7 separate regions of the Homo sapiens genome follow, and all the other regions are linked to region 6. The links are contacts of gene promoters, found by promoter capture Hi-C in blood cells and fetal thymus (Javierre and others, 2016). All regions are on one chromosome and are shown on one strand. The core of a region is centred on a gene start or on the middle of the fragment in contact, and the rest is flanking DNA. Distances in the headings are between cores, read along the strand shown.

The links. The method cuts DNA at HindIII sites, captures the fragments that hold promoters and counts their contacts. A CHiCAGO score of 5 or more calls a contact.
Region 1: a contact is called between a fragment that was not itself captured here and the fragment with the promoter of CACNA1I in region 6, in 8 of 17 cell types (megakaryocytes, naive CD4 T cells, M1 macrophages and 5 more). The highest score is 8.9, in megakaryocytes.
Region 2: a fragment that was not itself captured here is called in contact with the fragment with the promoter of CACNA1I in region 6 in 1 of 17 cell types (monocytes); the score reaches 5.2 in monocytes.
Region 3: a contact is called between a fragment that was not itself captured here and the fragment with the promoter of CACNA1I in region 6, in 16 of 17 cell types (M1 macrophages, M0 macrophages, megakaryocytes and 13 more). The highest score is 21.2, in M1 macrophages.
Region 4: the fragment with the promoter of TNRC6B-DT here is called in contact with the fragment with the promoter of CACNA1I in region 6 in 3 of 17 cell types (M2 macrophages, activated CD4 T cells and megakaryocytes); the score reaches 5.4 in M2 macrophages.
Region 5: the fragment with the promoter of ENTHD1 here is called in contact with the fragment with the promoter of CACNA1I in region 6 in 2 of 17 cell types (naive CD4 T cells and activated CD4 T cells); the score reaches 7.3 in naive CD4 T cells.
Region 7: a fragment that was not itself captured here is called in contact with the fragment with the promoter of CACNA1I in region 6 in 7 of 17 cell types (activated CD4 T cells, M0 macrophages, naive CD4 T cells and 4 more); the score reaches 7.9 in activated CD4 T cells.

What each region holds. Positions count from the first base shown.
Region 1 is chr22:39,929,703-39,933,304 of GRCh38, forward strand. The region is part of intron 1 of GRAP2 (GRB2 related adaptor protein 2); the gene reads left to right. Among named protein-coding and RNA genes, the nearest start is that of TMA7B, 29 kb to the right of the region's middle. RefSeq lists an enhancer at 3,210-3,602. The HindIII fragment of the contact is 2,178 bases long and covers 1,219-3,396 here.
Region 2 is chr22:40,067,963-40,072,025 of GRCh38, forward strand. It overlaps a transcript of TNRC6B not described here. Among named protein-coding and RNA genes, the nearest start is that of TNRC6B-DT, 25 kb to the left of the region's middle. The HindIII fragment of the contact is 4,346 bases long and covers 1-3,511 here.
Region 3 is chr22:40,021,030-40,024,841 of GRCh38, forward strand. It overlaps FAM83F (family with sequence similarity 83 member F), which reads left to right. Exons shown (of 5, transcript NM_138435.4): 4 at 261-934. Among named protein-coding and RNA genes, the nearest start is that of TNRC6B-DT, 22 kb to the right of the region's middle. RefSeq lists enhancers at 1,651-2,151, 2,152-2,652. The HindIII fragment of the contact is 2,052 bases long and covers 443-2,494 here.
Region 4 is chr22:40,042,987-40,046,995 of GRCh38, forward strand. TNRC6B-DT (TNRC6B divergent transcript) reads right to left here and starts at 1,544. Exons shown (of 1, transcript NR_163486.1): 1 at 144-1,544. It overlaps FAM83F (family with sequence similarity 83 member F), which reads left to right. Exons shown (of 5, transcript NM_138435.4): 5 at 1-548. It also overlaps a transcript of TNRC6B not described here. RefSeq lists enhancers at 539-1,186, 1,268-1,567, 1,878-1,997 and silencers at 2,298-2,517, 2,528-2,597, 3,884-4,009. The HindIII fragment of the contact is 12,286 bases long and covers 1-4,009 here.
Region 5 is chr22:39,890,965-39,895,037 of GRCh38, forward strand. It overlaps ENTHD1 (ENTH domain containing 1), which reads right to left and starts at 2,796. Exons shown (of 7, transcript NM_152512.4): 1 at 2,731-2,796. It also overlaps a transcript of GRAP2 not described here. The HindIII fragment of the contact is 18,515 bases long and covers 1-4,073 here.
Region 6 is chr22:39,569,160-39,572,683 of GRCh38, forward strand. CACNA1I (calcium voltage-gated channel subunit alpha1 I) reads left to right here and starts at 1,594. Exons shown (of 37, transcript NM_021096.4): 1 at 1,594-1,829. The coding sequence starts at 1,594. The HindIII fragment of the contact is 9,228 bases long and covers 1-2,508 here.
Region 7 is chr22:39,971,226-39,974,743 of GRCh38, forward strand. It overlaps GRAP2 (GRB2 related adaptor protein 2), which reads left to right. Exons shown (of 8, transcript NM_004810.4): 8 at 1-2,496. Among named protein-coding and RNA genes, the nearest start is that of TMA7B, 13 kb to the left of the region's middle. The HindIII fragment of the contact is 2,780 bases long and covers 1-2,656 here.

The DNA.
Region 1 (3,602 bases), core at 1,058-3,557, 360 kb after region 6:
GGGTTTTCACAATCATCTATATTGGAATAGCACCCAAATTAATAGCTCTACCCAGACTTTTTTATTGAGTTCTATACCTGCATAGCCAATCCTTGACTGGGAGTCTCTACATAGATCATTCACAAGCATTTCAAACACCCCTTTAATTATCTCCTCTTTCTGTATTCCCTTATCTCAGAAAATGCTACCAACATCTACCCTAATGCCCCCAGCAGGAACTCAAGAGTCGTTCTAGACCTATGCTGTCCCAAGTACTTCAATGTGGCTTGTCCAAATTGAAATGTGCTGTAAGTGTAAAATACACACCAGATTTCAAAGACTTAGTTTGGAAAAAATAATGCAAAGTATCTCAATAATATTTTATATTGATTTCAAATTGAAATGATAATATTTTGGACATATTGGGTTAAATAAGTTATTAAAAATAATTTTCTTTTACTTTTTAAAGTGCCACCAAAATATTTAAAATGGCATAATGGCTGGCATTTGTGACTTGCATTCTATTTCTATTGGATAACACCATTCTAGACTCTTTTCTGTCTTTTAGCCCCCTTCCAACTGGTCATAATTCACAGTGATTCCCTTGAGTTAAGACAAGGGAGAATACTGTTTAAGTGCACAGGCTGAGTTTGAATCCTGGCTCCACCATTTTTTGATACATATGAACTTGGGTGATTATTTAACCCCTTTGAGCTTCACTTTCCTCATCTGTCAGCTGGATACAATAGCAGTTCTTATTTTGAGATTCTTGCATGCTTTAAATGAGATAATGTGTAAAGTACTTACTATGGAGATAAAAACATGTGGAAAGACCCAGTGTCAAAAGAAAGAGCATGATCTGTCACTGTTGTAGTTCAGGCCCTCATCATTACTAGCCAAGACTACTGCGATGCTTTCTCCATCTTCGGTTCACCCTGCCCTCCATTCCTTCATACTGCCATCTGATTAAACATTCCTGAATGCAAATGTTTTCAAATGTCCAATGACTTCCCATCATCCTTGGTATGAAGTCCTAAGTCCCTGGCATGCTTTCAATGTCCTCCATGATCTGCCCCCAGTCCAATCACTGATCCCATCTCCTGCCAGTCCATGATTGAACCAGTTGGGTCCCCAACTCCTATTTGCACACACCATTCTCTCTGTGTGTCATATATGAGCTCTCTACTCTGCCTAGCTACTTGTCTGCAAGACTCAGTTCAATTGTCACCTCATTTGGGAAGCTTCCACTAATCCCTCCTGCACCTGTCTCCGTCCTAGGCTAGATTAGGAGCCTGCCCTTTGGGTTCCTGAACCACTTGAGGTGTGGTTCCTTTATCATGCTGATCTCACTGGTTTGGCTGACTTGTTTTTCCTACAAGACTGAACTGTCTGAGGTCTTAAGATGGGCTGTCTAGTCCACACTGGATCTTCATGCTCTACACAGGGCTTGACACAGAGTGGGGCACAGGAAATGTTTGTTGAACGAATACACAAAGCATATGGATACTCCTGAGAGAGAGAAGGTGGGCAAGACAGCCTTGTGAAGTTAAGCAGCAGAAAATCTGAAAACGAACCTGGATAGAAATCACCAATTCCTGGAAGTACAGAGAGAGGAAGGAGAGAGAAGAATCTGTGCAAGGAGTCAGTAATGGAGGACTTGAAATGAAAGGCTATTAAAGAGAGAAGATCATTCAAACAACAGAACCACATTTGGTACTGTTGGTGGTTTTGTAACTTCCTCTGAAATGGTTCCAGGAAGAGACAAGGTTCTAGGATGGTGCAAATCATATAAAGAAAGGATGGGGTATTATAAGCCAATTCAAGGATTATTTGTCATCAGGACTAGATACATGGGTGGTACAAGTAAATGTCAACCTGATGACTACACGATGGGACTAGTAATAATTTACTGGGGCTGGTGCCCAGGAAATTTTTTGCTGTGGTGCAGATGCCAAGCATGGAAAAATTTGACGAGTTATAGGCATGAGAAAGTAGATGGCGAATTTGAGAGTAACAATGTAAAATGCCAGAGTAATCACAAGAGAAATGTCTGAATATGTAAGAGAGTTTAGAAGATTTCTGCTTTACCACAAATACGGACTTCAAGAAAAATTCCCTTATAAGAACAGAAATTCCAATATATAAAACTTATTTATCAAAACACACAGTATTCCATAATATATAATGGTAAAAGCATGCCTTTTGACCCACACAATATTAAAAGCAGCAAATAACACAAGAAAGGTAGAGAAAACAGAAGGTACAACATTTTGTGGCTCACAGGATATATGAGTGAGATTATATACTTCTATTCCAAACCACAACCTTCACTAGAACATCTAAAGGCTTCATTCTAGAACCTTCATACTGCTTATCCCAAAGGCTAGCCCACTCCCCGGTTTTCATGTAAGAAATCTTGTGGGACAGGCGTTGCATGAGGTGAGGGGCAGCAGGGAAATTCGAGATGAAAGGGTGAAAAGATCAAACGAGTCCTTGCTATTCTTCTTAACAATGCTTCAGTCCACCACTTTGAGATTTCTGTGGAGAAAGTAAAGATTTGGGATATACATATACTAAAACAACTATTGGTTGCTTATCTGAAAATTAACTTTAGCTGGGCATTCTGTATTTTATCTGACAACCCTACTTGGTGAGGTGTACATTTTCTTATTCATACTTCCTGCGAGCCACAACATGTCTTAATAGTTGTTAGCTATTAAGGACTATGCATAAAAGTGACAATAGCTGGCTGGGCACAGTGGCTCATGCCTTTAATCCCAGCACTTTGGGAGGCTGAGGCAGGAGGATCACTTGAGGCCAGGAGTTCAAGATCAGCCTGAGCAACATAGGGAGACCCCTGTCTCTACAAAAAAAAAAAAAAAAAAAAAAAGCTGGATGTGGTGGCATGCACCTGTAGTCCCAGCTATTTGGGAGGCTGAGACAGGAGAATCACTTGAACCTGGGAGTTGGAGGCTGCAGTGAGCCCTGATTGCCTCACTGCACTCCAGCCTGGGCCACAGAATGATACCTGTCTCAAAAAAAAAAAAAAAAAGTAGCAATAGCTAACAACTATTGAATTATTGAGTGCCTACTATGTGCCAGACACCATACTAAGTGGATTAGATGGATATTCCACATATTCTTCCCAAGAACATTATGAGGCAGGCACTATTATCATCCCTGTTTTTAAAATGAGGAAACTGAGGCTCAGAGATGTTAAATAACTTGCTAAGGGTCACTCAGAAAACTAGTAGTAGAGAAGGGTTTGAATGCTGGCAGCCTGACTCCAAGGCTCATGTGCTTGCCTACCTTACCCAGATGGCGGCAGCACTGAGCAAGGGGTAGATAACTTCAAGTCCCCTGGAAGAATAAGAGAAAGTGAGACCATGGGGTATGAGGGGGGCAGGCCCTGAGTAAAGCTTTAAAGGAGCAGTTGAAATTAGACCCGGTGCCTTTGTTTAAGTAAGAAGAATGTGCTAGTTCTAAACAGATGCAGCCCCATACTGGGACTCACAGCTTGATGAGAAGCGCACTGGATGCATTTCAGCCCTTACTGCAACCTCAGCCTGAGGCCTTTATGCAGTGAGCAACCTGCACAACCATACATAGCAATGTGAGTTTGA
Region 2 (4,063 bases), core at 89-2,588, 500 kb after region 6:
AACCAAAGAATGTCCATAGAACCAAGTAGATTGGAATATACACTCTATCATATGCCACCTTAATCACTGGGTCAAATTCTTTTTTGGGGGAAAGAGGTTAAAATTGTTTTTCCATAGTCTTTGTTTTCCAGCACCCTAAGATCCTATTAACCTCATCCCACCCCCAATTCAGAAAGATAAGGACTTTAAAAAAGTATTCTTATGGTTTGAATTCTTAGATTTTTAGCTTTCAGCTTTTATTTTCTGTAATTTCATCTTTTTAGTTAACTGTATAGTTTCACAGTTCCTTTATAGTGAATAGTGAACCTTATAGTAGATAGAGTGGATACTCTTTTACTTACGTGGTTTGTTCTTTTGTTTTGTTTTGTTTTTTGAGATGGAGTCTTACTCTGCTGCCCAGGCTGGAGTGCAGTGGCGCAATCTCGGGTCACTACAACCTCCGCCTCCTGGGTTCAGGTGATTGTCCTGCCTCAGCCTCCTGAGTAGCTGGGACTACAGGCACGCGCCACCATGCCCAGCCAATTTTTGTGTTTTTAATAGAGACGAGGTCTCACCATGTTGGCCAGGCTGGTCTCGAACTCCTAGCCTCAGGTGATCCTCCTGCCTTGGCCTCCTGAAGTGCTGGGATTACAGGCGTGAGCCACCGCGCCTGGCCTCTTGGTTTGTTCTTTATCTGGATGTTCTTGTTTAGTATCTTAGTAACTTTTCGTTGTCTTGTTTTCTTTTCATTTTCTTTCAATTCTGTGTTTTGTTTAAGTAAAAGGAAGGTTACAACAGGAAAATCTTCTTTTATTTTTTATTTCTACAGATGAGGTCTCGCCGTGTTGCCCAGGCTGGTCTCAAACTCCTGGCCTGAAGTAGTCCTCCCTGCCTCAGCCTCCTAAAATGCTGGGATTACAGGAATGAACCATTGCACCTTGCCAGATTTTTCTTTTAAATCCATATATATGAGGTGGACTTTTTACCTTGAAATTTGCATTGAAATTTTTAATTTTTATTTTTGATTAATTTAGAATTCCATACATACTATTTTTATGACCACATATTTTTCATGGAGAGTAAAAACCACACTTTAGTAAACAATAGTGTAAAGGTAGCATTATCCTTTGTTTCCAGGACCTAGCCACAAATTTGCTATGAAAGTTTTTTGTTTTTGAGACAGTATCTCGCTGTCTCGCCCAGGCTGTAGTGCAGGTACAATCATGCCCCACTGCATGCAGCCTCAAATTCGTGGGCTCAAGCAGCCCTCGCACCTCAGCCTCCTGAGTAGTTGGGATCACAGGTGCACACTACCAGGTTGACTGATATAAAATTTTTTTTTTTTGTAGAGCTGGGGTCTCCCTATGTTGTCCAGGCTGATCTCAAACTCCTGGGCTCAAGGGATCCTCCTACCTCACCCTCCCAAAGTGCTGGGATTACAGGTGTGAACTACTGCACCTGGCCTAAAAGTTGTTTTAAGGAATATTTTGTGTTATTTTTCAGTCTTTAGTTTCTTTGAGTATAACTTTGTAAGAGCTTTTTTTTTTTAATTTTTTTTTTTTTGAGATGGAGTTTCGCTCTCATTGCCCCAGCTGGAGTGCAATGGCGTGATCTCGGCTCACCGCAACCTCCGCCTCCTAGGTTCAGGCGATTCTCCTGCCTCAGCCTCCAGAGTATCTGGGATTACAGGCATGTGCCACCATGTCTGGCTAATTTTGTATTTTTAGTAGAGATGGGGTTTCTCCATGTTGGTCAGGCTGGTCTTGAACTCCCAACCTCAGGTGATCCACCCACCTCGGCCTCCCAAAAGTGCTGGGATTACAGGCCTGAGGCACTGCGCCCGGCCGAGAGCTTCTTTTAGACAGAAATAATTAGGGGTTCTTTTCTATACCACACATTTATTAAAAGAGATTTTCACGGCTATCAGTTATGAAATGAGGTTCCTATTTGGCTGGAGTGTTTCTGGCATGTTAGTTGTGTTGTAGGAGGTGGGGAGTTGGGAGGATTGGTGTATATTAAAAGAAAAAATTTTAACTAATTATGTTTTATGTAGGTACAAGTGTTGTATTTATGTTTATTAAAGTGTTCATTCTGTGCCTATTTTTTCGTATCTTCTAAAATACCCTTCATTGTAATTAATTATAGGTTGTTAGTTTTATGTCTTAGTTCTTGCTTTAATCTGGCTTTATAGTTTTTTTCTCTAAGAGAGACATTTGAGTTTTGCGTGTTCCGTGTGCCTTTGTCATTTATTCGTATAATAAAATCGATAAGTAACTGGGCTAAAGTATATAATTTTCATTTCTTGTAGCTGTTCTATTACTTGACTTTTATTTTGTGATTTAGTAACTTCTTGGATTTTGTGACTTTTTATTTGATTTGATTCTTTTAATGACTTAAATTGGGATTTATTAACTTTTGAAATTAATGTTCTTTGATACATCAGAAAATCTCATGCTGTTTTTCTTTAAACATAAAAAGAAAGGGTGAAGCTCGTTGACAGAGATCTGCTTTTTTAACTTTGTCTTCACTCCATTCTGATACCATCTGCTAAAGGCTGATTTCAGTGTTTCCTTCAGAAAGAAGTTAAAATAAGACTTAATGTTGAAGTGGAATAAAATATTGTAACTAATAATACAGTTATATCTTTATAGATATTCAAAGTAGAATATTTTAAGTTTGAGGAAAAGAATTAGTTCAAATTAATTTACAGGTATTTTAAGAAAAAAATGGTATATTTCAGGAAGGTTGACAGGATCATTTTAATAAAAACTCATTTTTAGGTTCACAATTCCTTATCAGAAACTCTTAAGGGCCAGATGTATTTTATAGCTCAGATTTTTTTTTTTTTGAAAACTAATAAGATGCACTTACCATATGTTATACAATGCCCCTGCAGGGTCAGAGGCAGCACTTCAGAGTCAAATACATTAGTATTTCAGCAGCCAAAGCTATGACTAAAGTCTAAAGTGGGTAGACTATAAATAGTTTCATGTCAGTTCAGGTCAGACCTTGCCACCAATTAAATTCCCATCAGGTTTCACCACCAATGAATTCCAGAAAAGTTTTGGTTTTCAGAAGTTTTTGGATTTTGGAATTGTGGGTAAGGGACTGTAGACTATTTACTTTCTTAGCTCTAATGTTTGCTAGCATTTGTTACTCTCTGAAAATGGAACCCACTTTCCTTTTTTTTTCTGCTACAGGATGTAAGATTAAATCTGTTCTTTCTCTATAGGCCAGTTAATAGAAATTAGGACACCTCTTCACAAAGCTCAATACCTTAGGCAGTTGCCACTGTCCCCTGATACCTCCACTAGATACTTCCTACTCCTTGCTGGCTTTATATGAAGGATCTCATAGTTCCCCTCTTCTCCTCTCTCCTTTCGGAGGTACCTCGTGTTAATAAATGCTAAGTAAAAGAGATTTAAAATGTACAGTACCTCATGTAATATCTATCCTATCTCAAATAGAAATGTTTCAGAAGGTGCAACATGCTTTCTCTGGACCGACTTTTCCTATTACCAGCGAATGTGGAAGCTTAAAAAGTAACGTATACTTGTGTGTCATTTGGACTTTGGTATTACCATAAGGGAATATATACTTATGATAACATGAAACTCCAAATGGTACAGAAGTATAAAGGAAAAGCAGAAGTTTTCTCTTGCCCTACTGCGCCCCTCACTCCTCCAGCTTCTGACCACAAGGTTTGGACCCTTTTAAAATAATTTTTTTCTTTAGCTCAGACATTCCAGGGGACAGTTTGGGGAATTCTGATTAGGCATTATAACCCCACTTGGATTGATTTTGTGTTCATTGTATGTTAAATTATGGAGATGGCCTTTTCTGTGTTAACTGGCAGTTATAGCTTTTATTTCTAGAGCGATTTGTTCAGATTGCATGGTTTTGAACTGTTAATTAAATACTTTTTGTTTGTTTCGAGACCGGATCTTGCTCCATCGCCCATGCTGGAGTACATTGGCGCGATCATAGCTCACTATAACCTCAAACACCTAGGCTCAGTCTTCCCACCTCAGCCTTTTGGAAAGCTGAGACTGCAGGCATACATCACTACGCCTGACTGATTTTT
Region 3 (3,812 bases), core at 219-2,718, 450 kb after region 6:
ATATAAACCAGGTTTAAATGCAGGCCTGACTTCCCATGCTCTTTCCCTGCACCCACTGCCTGCTTGCTTCATTTGAGGCCAAGCTCTGGGGAAAGGGAGGCTACGGGTGGGTGGAGGGAATCAGTCCAGCGTGTGGCCCACAAGGAGCCGTACACCTGCAGCAAGGGTCTGGCCACAGCGGAGGGGCAGGTGGGGGCGGGGGCAGGGCAAGAGAGAGGCCTGGGCACATGTGTCTTGCTTTTCTGTCCCCACGTTCCCAGGTTCACCTGGAGTTCCTCCCATGTGGACAGAAACCTCCTCCTGCTCCTGACAGGACAGAACGTAGAGCCCTTTGACACGGAGTTCCGGGAGCTGTACGCCATCTCCGAGGAGGTGGACTTGTACCGGCAGCTGAGCCTGGCGGGCAGGGTTGGCCTCCATTACTCCTCCACTGTGGCTCGAAAGCTTATCAACCCCAAGTACGCCTTGGTGTCAGGCTGCCGCCACCCGCCTGGGGAGATGATGCGCTGGGCTGCCCGGCAACAGCGGGAGGCGGGCGGCAACCCGGAGGGGCAGGAGGAGGGCGCCAGCGGTGGCGAGTCGGCCTGGCGCCTGGAGAGCTTCCTGAAAGACCTGGTTACGGTGGAGCAGGTGCTGCCCCCCGTGGAGCCCATCCCCTTGGGAGAGCTGAGCCAGAAGGATGGCAGGATGGTCTCTCACATGCACAGAGACCTGAAGCCCAAATCCCGAGAGGCACCCAGCCGAAACGGCATGGGAGAAGCGGCCCGGGGGGAGGCCGCCCCCGCCAGGCGCTTCAGCAGCAGGCTCTTCAGTCGCCGAGCCAAGAGGCCTGCGGCGCCCAATGGCATGGCCAGCTCTGTCTCCACCGAGACCTCTGAAGTGGAGTTTCTGACGGGGAAGAGGCCCAACGAGAATTCCAGTGCTGACATCTCAGGTGAGCCCTCTTCCCTCTGGCCTGGTGCCTCCCCAGGCCTCTGGCCCTCGCCCCGCATCGGCTCTTATCCAGGAGCACTGCCTCATACCTGCAGAGGAGTAGATTCCATCTGTGGGCACAGAGAGGGCAGGAGCTCTGGGGTTCCGGGGTCCTTGGTTCCCATTCTGGCCCCGGCCATTAGCTGCCTGGAGGCCTTGGGCAAGTCCTGCAGCTCTGAGTTTCATTTTCCTCTTCTCTGAAAAAAGAGAAGGATTCCAGGCTTGGCATGGAGGGGTCTCAGAGCTTCTAATGCTACTGCTAGAAGGCATTCAGATCAGCCCTCATGGTAACCCAACAAATCAAATAAGCTGAGAAACTTTCTCCTTTGTAAGTGAAGAAACGGGGGCTCTGCACAGTGGGGTGCATGGCTGCAGCTCGACCCTGGCTCTGAGTTGAGGGCTCTTTCTAGCAAACCTTTTCCCTTGCCAGATCACCTATTGTCAGGATCTCACCTGGTTAGACACACCCCACCCTCCCCTGTACCCTACTGGTGCCCTGACCCAGTTTCCTGTCTCTGTGACGGGCAGTCCGACTTGGTTTCTCCACGTCCCTCTGCTGAGTGCTGTCTGCCCAGCTGCTTGTCCCTGGGTGGGATTGTTCCATGGCAGCGTCTTTCTGGGCATCTCTCTGGGATCCCCAGGAGGCCCTGGACTTTATGTCTCTCTCTGCAGCAGTCTCTGGGGTGGCCTTTCAGGTGGCTGGTGGCGGTGCCTTTCTCATCTCTGCATCCCTGAGTCAGGGGACTTTCCATGGTGGGGTTTCTCCCTCCATCGCTGTGGAGCCCAGTGATGAGAACTGGGCTCTGGCTGGCCAGGTGGGCGATGGCAGGGCCTGAGGTCTTGTGTGCCCGGCCCAAGGGCTTCCAGGACTCCTGCATTCCTGCACACCAGCTTTAACCGGATTGTGATGGTGTGAGAGCAGGGAGCACAAGTGTCATCCCCTCTGCTAATTCCCCAGCACTGCTTTGGAGTCTGACACATTCTGTGCTCAGGAAATGTTGGCTAACTTTGCTTCTTGGAGTTGGAACAGGCCTGGGCGCCTCTGTGGCTGTGGGCACAGTGGGAGTGTCAGGGCGTTCCTTCTGTTTGGCCTGGAGACGTTGACTGAGCTGCTGGCTTGCCAGGTCCTGCACAGGCACTCTCTCTCCCCTTCTGCCCCCACAACCACCCTTCAAGCACAGAGGTGGCAGATGGCTCGGAGAGGTGAATGAAGTGGTCCCAGGTCACAGGAAGTGGTAGTAAGGCCAGGATTCAAGACCAGGCATGGGCACAGCCATGTTCTGTCAGGGGAGGGGTGGCTGGCCCCATCCCCATTCCTCCTGGGCTCCCTGGCTCCCCTAACACCAGCTGCTGCTGCTGCTGCTGCTCCTGCTCTGTACCTCTGGTTTGGAGGAAGGGTTGCCATGGTGAACACCTGGCAAGGGAGCGAGGGGAAGAGGGGAAGGAGGTGGAAGAGGGGAAGGAGGGGGCGAGCCGACAGCAGCAAGGACTATTTCCCGAGTCCTGACTGAAGTGGAGTGGAAGCTTTCTCTTCCTTCAGCCCCTCGCCCTGAGATGCAGTTTCCATGGAAACTCAAAGCCCATTGTCTTGTCCCTTCCCGCTGCCTTCTGCGTGTCCCTCCACATCCATGTCCCTGCTCCCACATCTCGGGTGGTCACGGCGGCCCTGCCCCTGCTGCCGCTCTCTGGTGTCTGCACATGGTGCCCAGGAGCCAGCCTTGCAGACACAGACGGTACCCTTGGGAAGCTCCTCTCCAGGGCACCTGATGCTGGGATAGAGAGAGAGAGGGAATAGTGAGGGCGAGGGCACGGACAGCCAGGAAGGTCCGGGGATGCCCGGAACCATCATCCCGTTCCTTGTCCGTCCTTTAGACGAACACAGAGCAGCCTCCTCCGGTAAGGCTTCTGCCCACCTGGGTGGGCGCCCAGTACCTGCAGTCCTGAAATTCACGCACCTTTCCTCTCCCTCCCAAGGCCTGAGGGAGAAGCAGCAGCTCCTCTCCTGTCTTTTGCTGGTTTTGTTTGTTTTTAAGACAATGTCTCGCTGGAGTGCAGTGGTGCGACCACAGCTCATTGCAACCTCAACCTCCTCGGTTCAAGCGATTCTCCCACCTCAGCCTCCTGAGTAGCTGGGCTCACAGGTGTGTGCCACCATGCCTGGCTAATTTTTTAAATTGTTTGTATAGACAGGGTCTCATCATGTTGCCCAGGCTGGTCTCCTGGCCTCAAGTGATCCTCCTACCTCTGGGCCTCCCAAAGCGCTGGGATTATAGGCACAAGCCACCGCGCCTGGCCAGGAGCTCCTCTCCTAAGAGGCCCTTTTTCACGGCCTCCAGCTTCCCACACCATGGCCAAGTGGGGCTGCTTCAGTGTCTCCCCTCAGGCAGCAGCAGCTAAGCAGCCAGGACTGCATGTGTGAGAAGGTGGGCCCCTGACAGCATGGGGCACCCACCGTGGGAATCAGTGAGAACCTGAGCTCCTGCCTTTGGGCCCCCATGCAGGGAAAGTGTCCCCTTCCCCTGGTAAATGTTCAGAACCTCCCAGAGCAGCTGCCACCTGGCTCTCAATTCGGGACACATTGCTCCCTGTACCCAGGACACATCCGTCCCCTCCCTGGGGCTGTGTTCTCATCTAGAAGGTGGGGGAGTGCACCATTGAGGGTTTCCGAGGTCCCCTGGAGTTCAGATTCTGCCTCTGTTCTTTCTGTCTCTGCTGCCCTCTTGTCAAGGGAGAACCTGAGTTGATGACAGTTTCTGTCATAAGAGAAAAAATAGAAAAAGCTCAGAGCTGACAGCCTGTAAAATTGCTTGATAAGGAGTATATAGTTGTCAAACAGCATG
Region 4 (4,009 bases), core at 294-2,793, 470 kb after region 6:
AACCTATATTAGAATTTGACGCACGATCTTTCTTCTGTCCTTCTTGCAGTTGCCCTAGGAATACATGCCACTTACTCTTAATTGACGTTTATGAAATACCTTGGCTTCATTTGCTGAAAGGCTCTAAGTGTTGAGCATTGTTACTATGTTACAATGGTTGTTTTATTATTAAAGCAGTGCCAAGGAGGTTACACAACAGCTTGGATCAGGAAGTGAAACAAGGGCGGTGATCCCACTGAAGCTACAGGGGATGGGGATTTGGGACGGTAAAATGTTAATTACCCAAGATGGAATGTGGGCTAGAGTCCAGCGTTGTGCTCCTGGAGATCATTTCGGTCGCAAAAGCTCACTGGCAATGGGTCCTAAGCGTCCTGCCCTCCTCTGGCTGAAATGTTGGATTCACTTCGATGAATGCTGCTATAGGGAAAGAACCCAGTGGCCACCAGCCAGGAGCACACGTCTTGCTCAGCATCAACTATCCTGGAAGATTTCCAGGAGCTGAAGGGCTGTTCTCTTTGCATGCAATAAATTATTCATTTCTAAGACGATTTATTCTGTCTCTCTCTTTAGACTTGATTTCTCCTAGTTTTCCAGCTCTTGAGGACTCTCTCCAAAGAATGAGTTGTAGATGGTTGGTCAGGGGTTGCGAGTGGTGCCTAGGCTTCGCATAAAAGGAGGCAGAAATGTCTACCTTAAAGGGGAGAGGAATGGGTCCTGGGGAGGAAGATGTGGTGGAGGCAATGACAACCTTTCCATAGTAAGTCCCCAACAAAGTCACTTCTAGAAACTGACTGAAGACTTTGAGTTCCAAATGAAACGTTTTTAAGATGCTAGGTTGGCTGACAAGTACATCGTCTAAGGTGGAGGCACTAAAGCATAATAAAAAGAGTGAAGTCTCTGCAGTTTGACCCAGGACCAGATGCCAGGCCCACCAACGACTCTGTATCTGGATGACCTTGGGCAAGTTTTCTAAGCTCTCGCCAGCCTTAATTTCCCATCTATAAAAACTGGATACTGCATTACTCCCAGGTTTAACCAGATAATGTTTGTGAAGAAAGCAGCCCAATACTTGGCACAAAATAGGCAAGGGAGTCACTATTATCGTCAACTACTGGCCAAACAACCAGAGTTGACCCCAAATCCCCAGTAAACAATTAACCGTAGCAGAGCGAATCCGGATCTGACGCACCTATTTGCCCAATAAGGTGCCAGGAAATAACACAGTGGAGTCAAACCAATGGTATTAGCCCTTGTTGATGGACGGGCTTTCTTGCTGTTCCACCAATAGCTTGAAGATTTGACTGGGGAGTGACATCCTGACAGTCCAATGACGCACAACCAGCCCACACTCAGCACTTCGGAGGGGATAAATCAAGGAGCCGGCACGTATGGATTCCGTTATAGGGCAGTACTGGTTGGAGAGAGGAGCTTAGGGAAACAGCGCCGAGGCAAGGCACTAATGAGCTAAAAATAAAGAAAAAAGACGATGGTTGCGCCAAGCGACCTCGGCCGCCATCATGCTCTAATTTCCCCTGAGTCTCTCTGGGTCCTCGACCGAGGAAGCGGCCTCTGGGATGCTGAGGGGGTGTGTCCCCACATGATTGGCTCAGGCAGCTCAGCCAATCCTAGCTCGTTAAACGGGAAGCACTTAACCAATGAGGGGCGAAGGCAGCAACGAGGAATTGGAGGGGCGGAACGACAGCTTGACGGGCACAAAAGCCAGCCAGTGAGAGCCGGAAGCATCCTCCCTGCGGCCAATGGAGTGGGGCTCTGGGCGGGCCCCCGAGTGTTTGTGTTGTGGTTTTGGGGGAGGGATGCGGAGGGGAAAGTTTGTTTATTTTGTTTTTAGTTTTTGGGGTCCCCGTGCTGCTGCAAGGCGAAACGGGAGGGAGTGACCCCTGCGCCCCTCAGTCCCCCCTACGACGTCGCCTCCATAGTCTGCGGAGAAGCGGAGACTGCGCGCCTCGCCTCACAGCGAAACGCCGCGCACTCGGAGCCGGCACGGCTCGGCGGTGAGTGAGGTGCGGCGGCCGCGCCGTCCTTCCCCTCCCCCGCGCCCCGCCGGGACGGAGCGGGGCGGCCGGGGGTCGGCGAGGGCGCCCCCGGGGGCGCGCGGCGCGGCCCGGGGCGGTGAGCGGAGGCGCGGCGTGTGCGTGTCCTCGCGAGGGAGCGCGCGTGGGGCGGGGAGCGGGCCGGGGAGGGGGCGTGAGCGCGCGCGGGGCTGGTGCGGCCGGCGGCGCTGAGCGCGCGCTCCGCGGGAGCGGGCGCCGCCGAGATTTGAGTCGAGGGGCGGGGAGGGACTCGGGGCGACGTCCGGCGCGCGGGCCGGGGCGCCCCGAACGGCCGGGCAGGCACTGGCGGGCGCGCGCGCGGCTCCGGGCGTCACGCGCCAGCAGGTGTGAGCTGGGGGAGGGCTTCCGGGTGGGCTGGCCCGGCCGTCGAGTTCGCTTCCCGTCTCCGGGGGGCCTCGGCGCGGGGACACCTTCCCGGCCCGCGGAGGCGCGTCCGCCCCTGGCTGGCGGTGGCAGAGGGAGGCGTCAGGCCTCGGATCCTCGGGTCCCTGCGCAGCGTCCCGGCCTGTGTGCAGGACCTGCGTGACAAGGTGAATGCGTTCCACACCCCTCGCCAGGGCCCTGCGTGTGCGGCCACTTGGGGAGGCGGCTCAGACTCTGGACAAGGAAACGAGGGGCACGGAGAGTGTTTTTACACCTTCCCGTGGTCCGGTGCCCTTCAGTTCCAGACTACCGGTTTATTCGGCTGTAGAGGCTGGACATCCGATCCAGCGAGACACGCTGTAGTGGTTAAAGACGTCCAGTAACGGTCACCTCTAGTCAAGCGCCTTAAGGACCAGCTTATTCTGAATTCTTTGGAATTCAGGTTACCAGCCTGGGACTTTAAGTTCGTGCTTTCTCATGTGTTTTGGCTGTTTTATTACTTTTTAGCATCAGTGCTAGAGATTGAACGAGAGGATGGTGAATTTCAAGTTGGTCATTTGTATTATAATTTAAGCAAAATTATACAAAATTGGTCAAAGATATTTCTTCATAGTGAATAAAACAAGCCAAGAATCAGTGAATGAAACATTAGTGCCCCCACCAACAGTTAAGTATATATATAAAGTGTGTAGAAATGATAGACATTAGCATTTTGTGAAAGTTTACTAATAGAGGTTACTTCTCTCTTCGCTGTGGGAGATTTCAGTAGTATAAGGTTTCTCTTGATTTGGAGAATCATCAGTGATCTTGGCTTCGAAAGTACAGATGTGTTTTGGGTAGTGTTGTGTAAATGCCTCTTATAGAGCGGAACTTTTAGCGCATTGTCTCTACAGCGCGCAGCATTGCTGTAGGCAGGTAGTGGGAGGGCTGTGTAGTGCCCACTTGCACGAAGGCACACTCACCAATATCCAGAATACAAATCAGACTGGCTTGTCCCACGTGGGACGTGGTGATGATGATAATAATACTTTTATATTTTCTTAGTTCTTTACTATTATTAAGGGCTTATCCCAAACACCATTATTTGAGCAGAGTGGTTTCTGATAGGAATTCCGTAGCTGCTTTTCTGTGGTAACATATAAATGTCATGCCCTTGAAAAAGATTTCCCTCATTCAAATGGAAGCACTTAAATTTTTTTTTTTTTTTTTGAGACAGAGTCTCAATTTTTTTTTTTTTTTTTGAGACAGAGTCTCAAAGATTGTGCCAGGCTGGAGTGTAGTGGCACAATCTCGGCTCACTGCAAGCTCCGCCTCCCGGGTTCACACCATTCTCCTGCCTCAGCCTCCCGAGTAGCTGGGACTACAGGCGCCCGCCACCACGCCCGGCTAATTTTTTTGTATTTTTAGTAGAGACGGCGTTTCACCATGTTAGCCAGGATGGTCTCGATCTCCTGACTTCATGATCCGCCCGCCTCGGCCTCCCAAAGTGCTGGGATTACAGGCGTGAGCCACCGCGCCCGGCCTTAAAAATGTTTTCAAGTCGGAGCAATACCACTTGTTGAAATGGCAGTAAT
Region 5 (4,073 bases), core at 1,546-4,045, 320 kb after region 6:
ACTACATGAAAATGCTGTTTACATACAGCATCAAATAACTGTGAGATTGTAACTACAGTGATGTGACAAAAATTGACATGAGACAAAATTAGTGCCCAAGAGGGTAAATTTCCACATTTGAATCTTGGTTGTCTGGCTACCCAACTCACTATAATATTTAGAAATAGAGGGAAGAAGTTAGGTATTTCATGTCACAAATCTGAGAGGTCTTCACCGACCTCACTAACTACTTAGGTCTCCCCAGAACCTGGTTAATTTCCTTCATTGCACTTGTAACAATCTGTACTTACCTATTTGTCATTTGCTCAGTGCCTTTCTTCACCACCAAACTGGAAGCTCCTTGGGGGCAGGGACCTTGACGGTCTTATTTACCACTGTAATCCTATCCCTAACAGCTAATTAGCAACAGTAGATACTCAAGAAACATGTGTTGTGCAAATAACACAATGATTGAATGATTCTGCCTTGGGATAAACCTGCACTGATTCTATAGCTTTATAATTATAATCACTTTTTTTTTTTTTTTGAGATAAAGCCTCACTATGTAGCCCAGGCTGCTTGCAAACTCCTGGGCTCAAGCAATCCCCCTGCCTCAGCCTCCCAAGTAGCTGGGACTACAGGTGCATACCACCAAGCCTAACTAATTAAAAAAAAAATTTTATTTTTTTTTTTGAGATAGGGTCTTGCTCTGTCACCCAGGCTGGAGTGAAGTGGCACGATCTTGGCTCATTGCAACCTCCACCTCCCAGGTTCAAGCAATTCTCCTGCCTCAGCCTCCCAAGTAGCTGGGACTGCAGCCATGAGCCACCAAGCCCAGCTAATTTTTTGTATTTTTAGTAGAGACGGGGTTTCACCATATTGACCAGGGTGGTCTTGAACTCCTGACCTCAAGTGATCCGCCTGCCTCGGCCTCCCAGAGTGCTGGGATTACAGGTGTGAGCCACCGTGCTTGGCCTCAAAAAAAATTTTTTTTTTAGACACGAGTTCTTATTGGTTGCCCAGATGGTCACAAACTCCTATAAAGCATGATATTAAAAAAATAAATAAATAAAATCTAGCTCTCATAATTGTCAAGTAAAATTCTATAGTTTTGAGCAAATATTTTCAAATCATCAACAGATATTTCTTGAGTACCTACCATTTGTATAGCTTTGTGGAGAAATATAAAACATGAACCTCACATTAAAACTTACCATTCAGTTAAGGAGCTTTCTCTCCTAAATAATTCCCAGCAAAACAAATGATTACGTAGAAAAGGTCTTTTAGTGTTATTTTTAGATCTGCCCACTTTCACAATGCTGTTTCCTTCCCCCCATTTCATCTGAATTCTAACAGGAAATGATTTATCAGCTGGCATTAAACTATTGGTCCACGATCTTTTATCCCAATCCTTTGAGGCCAGATGATTTGTGGAAATTCTCTTTTGGGTGCGGTGGTAGGGGTGGAATTTTCAAGAGTAGTGCCATGTCTATACCATATATTACATGATACCCACAGTAAGGTGTGGAGCTGCTCTGAACAATTAAACACATTAACATGTCTGCAATAAAAACATGTAAATATTTGGAATAAAGACTACAAATGGCCTCAGGCCAAGTTTTACCACCAAATGAGTTGGAGGAAAAGTTGATTTCCAAAAGTTTTTGGATTTCAGGATTGAGAATAAGGAACAGAGGAGCTGAACTGACTTTATCCAAAGACTTGGGACAATAATGACAATAGCATCTAAGAGGCTGAGTGTCCAGAGCTATCTCTGAAAAGATGCATTTAAGGTGGAACTATGAGAAAAGAACAGCTCTTGTGTTTGTACAGGTTCTGCCTATAGACATGAGTTTGACTCGTAAGGAAATGAGCTCTGGCCAAGAATGCTACGGGAAAATGGTTATAGAGACTACCATGCCATTAGGAGGTGTTACTGTTTTGATGAAAAGAATACTGTCAGAGGCAGAGAATCTAATCTTTTCCAGCCCTAAGTGTGTGTTCATTAATTTATTCAACTAATAATCTTCCAGAGCTTACCATGTGGCAGGCTCCATTCTAGGAAATGGAGAAACAGGTGCACAAGACACAGTCCTCACACCCTGGAGTAAACAGCTACTCTTCATTGAACGCTCACAATGTGCTCACACCTGGGCCTTCACATGCCTCATCTCTCTCCTTTAATTAGGATTCAAAGCCATGATTTGAGGTCCTGCTTTGCCATTTCCTAACTAAGACTTAACAACTTCTCTAAGTCTCAGTTCCCTCATCCGCAACACAAAGAATAATCGCCAGACAGGGCCGTGGGGGAGGAAGAAACGAGATGCTTTGGAAAGAATTTTGAAAATGGCGGGTGGAGGCTGAGCAAGAATCAACTTTCTGTGGGCAGGGCCTTTCCTCGGCATCCTCGTCTTCATTCATACAACCCCCACTTCAGATGACGACTGTGTACCAGATGAGCCAGGTGCTGGGCGTTCGGCCACACAGAGAATCAGACCAGCAATTACCCTAGGAGAACCGGCAGTGGAGGGGAAGGCTGGACCTCAGGAAAGCCTCTAGAAGGAGAGAGGGACGTGATGGCGTCACGTCACGCCACAGGGATTTCACCTCCTGCGGATGGTAATGGCCTCGCCGCCCTCCCGCCCCCACCTGGACTCCGACGGTGCCGGCAAGAAACGGGAGGAGGGAAGGCAACCGATGTTTCCAGACCCGCCTTGAGCCCCACCACCACTCCCAAGCAGAGGCTGTTACCTGAGAGGAAAGTCGGCCGCTGCCCAACGACCAAACTTCCTCTCCCCAGGATATTCCACCTACTCCAGCCAGGCTCAAGGGCCCAGGCCGGTCCCCACTTCCGCTTCCTCACTTTCTGGCCTGGTGCAGTTCCTGTCAGGGCGTCAAGCAAGATGGTTGCAGATACCTGAGCTGGAGGGTACCAAGGGGAATGAAGGTAAGTGTCTTCGTTTCACAGGCTGCCGGGCTGTGACACTGCCCTAATCCTCCTTTCAAAGAATAAATTTTTTTTTTTTTTTGAGATCTGGGAAATAGTTTAATCAGACACTAGCATTTATTCTTAGCTGCTTTCTTAATTAAATAAAAATGAGTATAAATTAATTTACTAAATGTTCACAACGTAAAAACGGACATTAAAAAAAGAAAAAAAATGCCAAGGTAAGCTGATAATGTTTTTAAAAAGTAGACAATAAAATAATGTATGTAACTTAAAATTTGCCATGATAATTTATTCTTAAAATGGAAAATCAGTAAAATACTCAGACTTCTAGCATAATATCTCTTTTTTTTTATTTATTATTATTTAAGTTTTAAGGACATGGATGAAATTGGAAATCATCATTCTCAGTAAACTATCGCAAGAACAAAAAACCAAACACCGCATATTCTCACTCATAGGTGGGAATTGAACAATGAGAACACATGGACACAGGAAGGGGAACATCACACTCTGGGGACTGTTGTGGGGTGGGGGGAGGGGGGAGGGATAGCATTGGGAGATATACCTAATGCTAGATGACGAGTTAGTGGGTGCAGCGCACCAGCATGGCACATGAATACATTTTTAAAAGTGTGTTACTACTGTCATTTCAACTGACTAGAAATACCACCAGCACGTGATTGCCACCTCAAAGGACTGAGAATGTAATAGTAGTCTATGAAGAGCAGTGTGTGTGATGGACAATGATGGGGTAGCTCCAGTGACTGATGGCTTCAGGTGCCACTGACGGGTAATTGTTGATGTATTCAACTGATTTTCCGTGAGCACCCACTTTGTGCCAGACAGTAAGGACTCGGAGATAAAAAGCAGCCCTCTGCTGGATACGTTTACAGGCTAGTGGAGGTGACAGGCACCGTCAGAGAAGATTGTAACAAGATATGTATGGCATAGTAAGAGAGAAGAGATCATCTAATTCTGCCACTGAGTATTTAAGGGCAGGTTTCACAGAAGAGTTTACATCTGAATTGAATCTTAAAGGATGACAGGGAGTTCACTGGATAGACAAAGTAGAGGAGGACGTAAGAGGCAAAGGACACATCATGTGTAAAGGCATGAAAGCTGAGCCAGCCTATTATCTTGGAAA
Region 6 (3,524 bases), core at 344-2,843:
ATGAAGCCCGCCTGGGGGTCTGGTGCTGGGATTCTGGCCTCTCAACACCACCTAGTGCTTCACTTGGCTGGGTGCATAGCCTTGACAACCCGCTTTGTTCTCTTGGCCTCAGTTTCTTCACCTGCCAAATGGGCATAATAGTCCTCCTGAGGTTGTTGTGAGCATCAGACAAGGCCAGGGAGTAGAAGTGCTTTGAGTTGGAGTCGGAGCCAGCAAGATGATTTGCATCACCTAGAACAAAATGAAAATGTGGGACCTCTTGATAAGCAATTAAGAATTTCATGTTGGTGACAGAAGAATTCTAAAGCAAGTTCAGGGCCCTTCTGAGCACGGGGCCCTGTGCAGCTGCCTGAGCCACAGACCCAGGAAGCGGGCTCTGACCGGAATTCTTTTTTTTTTTTTTTTTTGGTGACAGAGTCTTGCTCTGTTGCCCAGGCTGGAATGCAGTGGTGTGATCTTGGCTCACTGCAACCTCCACCTCCCGGGTTCAAGTGATTCTCATGCCTCAGCTTCCCGAGTAGCTGAGATTACAGCGTGTGCCACCACACCCAGCTAATTTTTGTATTTTTAGTACAGATGAGGTCTCACTATGTTGGCCAGGTTGGCCTCAAACTCCTGACCTCAGGTGATCCACCCACCTTGGCCTCCCAAAGTGCTGGGATTACAGGTGTGAGTCACGTGCCTGGCCTTTGACTGGAATTCTATTTCTGCTGTTACTCTGCTACATGTCTGTCCTGTCCCTTCTCTGGGCCTCGGTTTCTTCATCTGTAAGGCAAGGAGGTTAGACTCTAAGATTCCTGGGTTCTCAGCCTTGTAAGGCAGTGGCTGGGAGGTCCCTGGGTCAAGGGCTCAGCTGTAGGTCTCAGCTCAGGGGTTACTTCCTCAGGGAAGCCAACTGTGATTCCCTCCTGGCTTGCCAGCGTTCCCCCAGTCTCTGATTCTGCAGCACCCCAACATTGCCTTTGTAACCTGCATTGTCCTGGCAATAATGTCTGTCTTTACAATCACCTCTTTTTTCTTGCAAGTTTTCTTTACCTTTGATGGTGCAATAAATACATAGCTCTAGTCTTGTAAAAAAGTTAAGATCCCTTCCTTCCTTCCTTCCTTCCTTCCTTCCTTCCTTCCTTTCTTCCCTCCCTCCCTCCCTCTCTCCCTCTCTCCCTCCCTTCCGTCTTTCTTTTCTGTCTATAATTACTTAAACATTTTTTCTCTTAAATAATGAAAGATTTCAAATACAGAAAATTGCCAATAGACAAAAAAAAAAGAGTTAATATCACAATTATATTCTAAGAAGGCTTTATTCTCCCCACTATCTTCGTTTGCCAAAACTGAGGCTCAGCCAGGGTGAGCAGACTTGCCCCATGATCACCCAGCTTGGAAGCAGATTCCAAGTTGGGTGCAGCTGGGCCCTCAGCTGTTTCGTAATCCTCATGCAAGAGTGAGGGTGAGGGGCCTGTGGGGCTCAGGTGGGGCTGTCAGAGCTGCATCCGTCCACTTATTGGTGGAGAGGCAGGTTGGGGAGCATGTACCAGGCCTGTCCCCACCACGTGCCACCCTCTCTGTCTTCCCCAGGGCTCCCAGCTCAGTGTGGACATGGCTGAGAGCGCCTCCCCGCCCTCCTCATCTGCAGCAGCCCCAGCCGCTGAGCCAGGAGTCACCACGGAGCAGCCCGGACCCCGGAGCCCCCCATCCTCCCCGCCAGGCCTGGAGGAGCCTCTGGATGGAGCTGATCCTCATGTCCCACACCCAGACCTGGCGCCTATTGCCTTCTTCTGCCTGCGACAGACCACCAGCCCCCGGAACTGGTGCATCAAGATGGTGTGCAACCCATATCCTCCGCAGCCTCGGCTGATCGGGGCCCTGCAGGGGCTGAAGGGTGGGGGGCTGGATTGAGTCCTGCTGCTCACACCTTGCTCCGGCTGGGAGACCTGAGGTCTGCGGTGAGGCCACTGGGCCTTGGTGGTGGTGAGCGAGCTCAGAGGGTGGGTCTGGGGAGACCTCAAATGGATGAGGACCTGGTGTTCTGCTGATGTGAAGGTTCTGGAAGTTGCTGGTGGCTGTGGGGTCAGTCCAGTGGCTGGCTGGCTCAGAAAGTCCTTGAGTGTGGGCCCCAGACCTGTGCTGGGCTGGGAATGCAGATCAGTCAGACTCTGGAGCCACCTGATGGGCCGTGACCATACAGAGGATGGGAGCCGTGATCAGGAACTGTGGGCGTGGGCAGCGGGGCAGCCGATCCCAACACACAGGGCAGGACTCATTCTCCTTACTGTGCCTCCGAGCAGCCTCTTCCCAGGCCTCCTGCCTCCACTTGCTGCCTCCAGTGGGCTCATGTTCCCCCTGCTTAAGACTGTCATGATTTGCTATGGTCCTGGAGGTGCAGAGCAAAGTCCTAATCCAACCCATCAGGGCCTGTGTGTTCCACCCAGCCTCACTTCCCACCACTTGGCTTCCCCCCTGTGCTCTTCTGAGCCTCAGGGTCCTCTCACTGGCTCTTCCCCCTGTCTGAAAAGCTTTTCCCTTCCCCCTGGACCTGGCCAAATCCTTTGCTACATCCTTAAAATCCCAGCTTAAGCATCACCTCCTCAGGGAAGCCCTCTGGGATTCCTCCTCTGCTTCATATCTAACTGTCACATCTAACTGTGGAATTCTGAATCTAACATTTGCCTCCCCTGGGGTACTGTCAGATGACTGGGATGGGGACCCTAGCACCTGGCACAGTGCTTGGCACATCGTGGGTGCTCTGGCAGTGTTTGCTGGGTGTACATGGGCAATGCCAGAGCTGACTCCTCAATAAGGAAGAGCGTTGGTTGGGTAGAGAGGGTAGTGGGAGGCAGGAGGAGGGCATGGCAGGAGCGAAGCCTGGAGAAGGGAGGAGTTGCAGGCAGTGTTGGAGCCCTGAGGGGCAGAGAGGAGTGAGGTGAGGCTGCAGGTGTGGCGGGAGCCCTGCAGGGCCTTGGAGGCTGCATGAGGGATGGGACTGTGCTCCAAGGGCAGGATTTGAAGCAGGGTCTGGAGAGATCTGTGCTCTGGAAGGACTGTGTGGCACTGGCTTGCAGGGTGAAGTGGGGGCTGGGGACCACTGAGGAGGAGGCTTGGGGACCCAAGCCATGGTGGCCTTGTGGTTTGAGGGTCCCACCAAAAAATGCCCATATGTGGCTCGAGGTTCTGGTGCTTGTGGCCACACAGGGCAGGGTGCGGGGAGCTGGTGGGTCAGGTGCAGGCCTGAGTCCTGCCCTGGAATCCAGGGATGCCAGATGCAGGCTGGGATGTTGAGACTGGCTGCAGGACTGCCAGGCTTCCCTTCTGTAGGGGGCTGAGGTGATCGTGGGCCCTGGATCCCCCTAACTTTTGGAAACCAGCGGGTCTCTGCTGGAGTGGGATGCAGAACTGGGTGTTCCTTGCTGGGTGGGGGCTAAGAGCCTCCCTGCTCCTTCTGGGGGACGGCTCACAGCGTCTCAGGCTTGGTGAGAGGGTCTGCTCGGTAATTAGTTCACCCAGCACTCACTGACATCTGCCCTGGGACA
Region 7 (3,518 bases), core at 17-2,516, 400 kb after region 6:
TTATTGGCAATTGGGCTGGTAATTAGTTGATGCAAAAGGGAACTCAGGTGGAGAATAATATTGACACTTGCTTTTCTGCCCCCCTCAGGGGTGTGTGGAAGGCAGTGGGGGAGTTGGGAGGGGGGCAGGGAAATGAAATGGAGTTTTGTCCTGGCCTTCAGCTGTCACTGCTTCCTCCTTGTCTTGGGAATTTTCACGGAGAACAGCTAAGCAGAGACCACACCTCGGCACTGGACACAGAACAACAGGGTGGGGTTGAACTTGGTGGGGCACGTTCTAGCTGACCTGCAAGCCCCGCTCACCTGGAGGGCTTGCAGAGCAGCTCTCCTCCTGTTCTCCAAGGGGTGGGCACTGTTGCATTAGGAATTAAGGTGCAGCCCAGTGCTGCGGGCAGCCAAGCGAGTCTGAGCGGGGATGTGAAGGCAGGACGGGGTTGGAGAGACCCTGCCTGTGCAAGGCTGGCCTCCTAGTCAACACCTAGCTGAGACATTCATCTCTGTTCAAATTAATATTCCTTGGGTCTTTCAAATGAATGTTTCAATGTGAGGAGCGAAGTACTGGGAAATCGAGGGATTTTCCACAATCCCCAAGCAGCTTACTCAGTGGAACCTCTGTTTCCCCAGCTATGAAGGAAATAGCATCCTACATTCCGTAAAGTGCTTGAAGAAGCTCTAGCTGAGAATGCTGAATTTTACAGTCATTGTTTTATGGTTACAAGGGTATGTCTTCAGGGCTCTGTTCATTTTCCCTCTTGATTTTCTCTTTTGAAGATGCCTTGCCCAGTGGCATGGAAAGAAGCCCACTTGATGATAGGAGCCTGACTATGAATTGATTGACTAAACATGACCCCAGGTGGAAGCTGGCTTTGACACCAGCTTCCTGTTCAGTCTGACCACTGCTGTCCTCCTGCTGCCCAAGAGTTGCACCTGGAGCAAGGAACCCCACCATGGCTGTCGCTCTCCATCCCATCACGCTAGAATCATGTGTCCAAGGGCTCACTCTGGAGGTGCACAGCACAGGTCAGCCTGGCCAGGGGCGAAGGAGACAGTAGAGAGGAAGCTCAGGGCCTTAGGGGAGGCCGGGTGCAAACCCGTTCTGCACCAAGTGCACTCGGAGTTTGTGGGTATGGGTGTGTACCCCTGCAGGTGTGCACATGTGTGCTTGCACGCACATATTTGTGCACTCCTGTGTGTATACATGTGTGCTTGTGTATGCATATGTGTGCATTCCTGCATGTGTGGACATGTGCGTGCATGCATCTGTGTGTCTGTGTGTGTGCTGAGACAGGAAAGGGGGTGAAAGTGTTGGTGAGGGAGCCTGGAAGTTTTCTCTTCCCCAACCTCTCTTGCTCTAAGGAGGGATGGGGTTGGGGGCAGCCGTTATTGAAGGTGATCGGAGAAGAAAGATTTTCTGACTCAGAAGTGACTGCCAGTGTAGCACAAGCAGTGTCCCTTGTGACTGTGATTCTACAGTTCTCTGATCCTCATGTTTCCTTTAGAGGAAAGAGGAAAAAAGGAACTCTGTGGTGGGTATTGGGAGGGAAAAGAAAATAGCCTGGTGGAGGCAGGAGGGAGTCGAGTGTGAGTAAGGAGCACCTGCAGCTTTTGGAAGTGAAAGCAGAGAGAGGGAAAGGTAGCTAAGACATCCAGGAGGATCAAGGGGCAGCGTGAGAGGCACAGGGGGAGGAAAGGGAGAGGGTGAGTGGGGCCAGGGAAGAGAACGGTGTGGAGTTGGTGGGCAGATGGTGCAGGAGGAGGGCTGGGCAGTGGGGAGAGGAAGAATCAGAGCAGAGAAACCGCTGCTGCGGAAGGCAGGGAGCAAAGAAGCATAAGGAAAAGAACAGGAGAAAGAACAAAGGCAGAGAAGACCTCCTCAGCTATTTTGGTGCTAGGTAATGTGAAATGCTGCAGTAAATAAAAGCCATAAGTAATGTTTGATTTTACAGTATTTACAAACCATATGCTTTAAACAGCCCACAAACTCCATCCAGTTGTCTGATGATGTGGGAGGACCAGCTCTAGTTAGACGGAGGTATGTGATTCGATTCTGGTGGAGACTTTGTGCCTTGAAAGGCTTCTCAGGAAAGCAGTAATAAAACAAAGTGTCCTTGTTTGGCCAGGCCGTGTCTGGTGTCTGCGTTGCATACCCCTCAGGTAGAGAGTGAGAACGAGACCAGGGGGTGACAGGGGTCATCGGCCTGCAGGAGCTGACCCCGTAGGCAGGCGGTATGAGCAGAGCTTTCAGAACCCCTGGAGCTCGGTGTTCTGTTGTAGCAAAAGCTACTGAAGAGTATTTTGTACTGAGATGCCAAAGCATCTTTCCCTTGCTCATCAGCCTCCATTCAGAAGGAAGCGGGAAAGTCACCCAAACCACCTACAAGGAATGAGGGCTCTTAGCGGCCAGGTAAAGAGGACAAGAACCAAACTGTCCACATTATGGAGGGGAGGGGGAAAGAGAGCTCAACCCCCCTCAGCCTCTGGTGCTGCCAGGGGGAGCCCCTCCGCATGTGTCCCCACGGGCCCTAGTTTCTACCTGACAGCATTTCAGCACCAGAGGAGGGTTGAGCCAGCTCCTCTCACCAGCCACAGAACCAGCAGCCAACAAACACATTGTCCCCGAGTTTGGCTGCAACACTCTATGTGACTTGGGAACTTGAAGCTTCCAGAGAAAAGCCAGGTCCTGTTGGACCAGTTGTTGGGTTTTCCTAACCACTTGCTGTGCCTCACCGCATTTCAAATATCTGGCACCTGCCACTGCCCACCCACTTTTAGATGGCCCTAGGGTGATCTAACCATGGTGCTTCTCAAAATTTAAAGTGCCTACGAATTGCCTGGGGACCGTGTTGAAATGCAGCTTCCAACTTGGTCCTGAATTTCTAACAAGCTACTGGGTGCTGTTGCTAGGTCCACATGTTAAGGAGCAAAGGCAAAGAACTTAGCAGTGAGCACAACTCTAATTGGGCTCTTCTTCTGAGGATATTCGGCCATTTTTTCTTCGCTGCTAACGAATAGGTCACTTTGGCTTTGGGACAGATGCAATTCAGAACGGTCATTATGACGTCATTCATATTTGGCTACCCAGGTGACTTATTATTTTAGCATCCTTATCTCTAGAATTAAAAAAATGTAATGTGAGAGGAATTCAGATGAAATGCAAACAGGAATTTCCTATAATAATTACTATTTCCTAATAGTAATTATTTTAAACATCAGCAGAGATTGCAGAAGTTGTAAAAGCTTTGTCAGGAAATCTTCAGTCATAAAATTGACTCTGGTCAGATGTGGCCCTGGTTGAGGCAGGGGACTGTGCTCCCAGCTAACCTAAAACACAACAGCCCACACTCGGGACAGATTAGCATGGCCAAAATATTTACTGTTTGCCTTGTCTAAGCCAACATTTTAGCCCCTCTATACCAAGGCAAGTGTGTGAGAAAAACCTTGATTGTCTCAATGCTTTTTAAAAAATGCCTCCTCAGTTCCTCCACTTTACTCCATCACCTTGGCCATGCCACCATCATC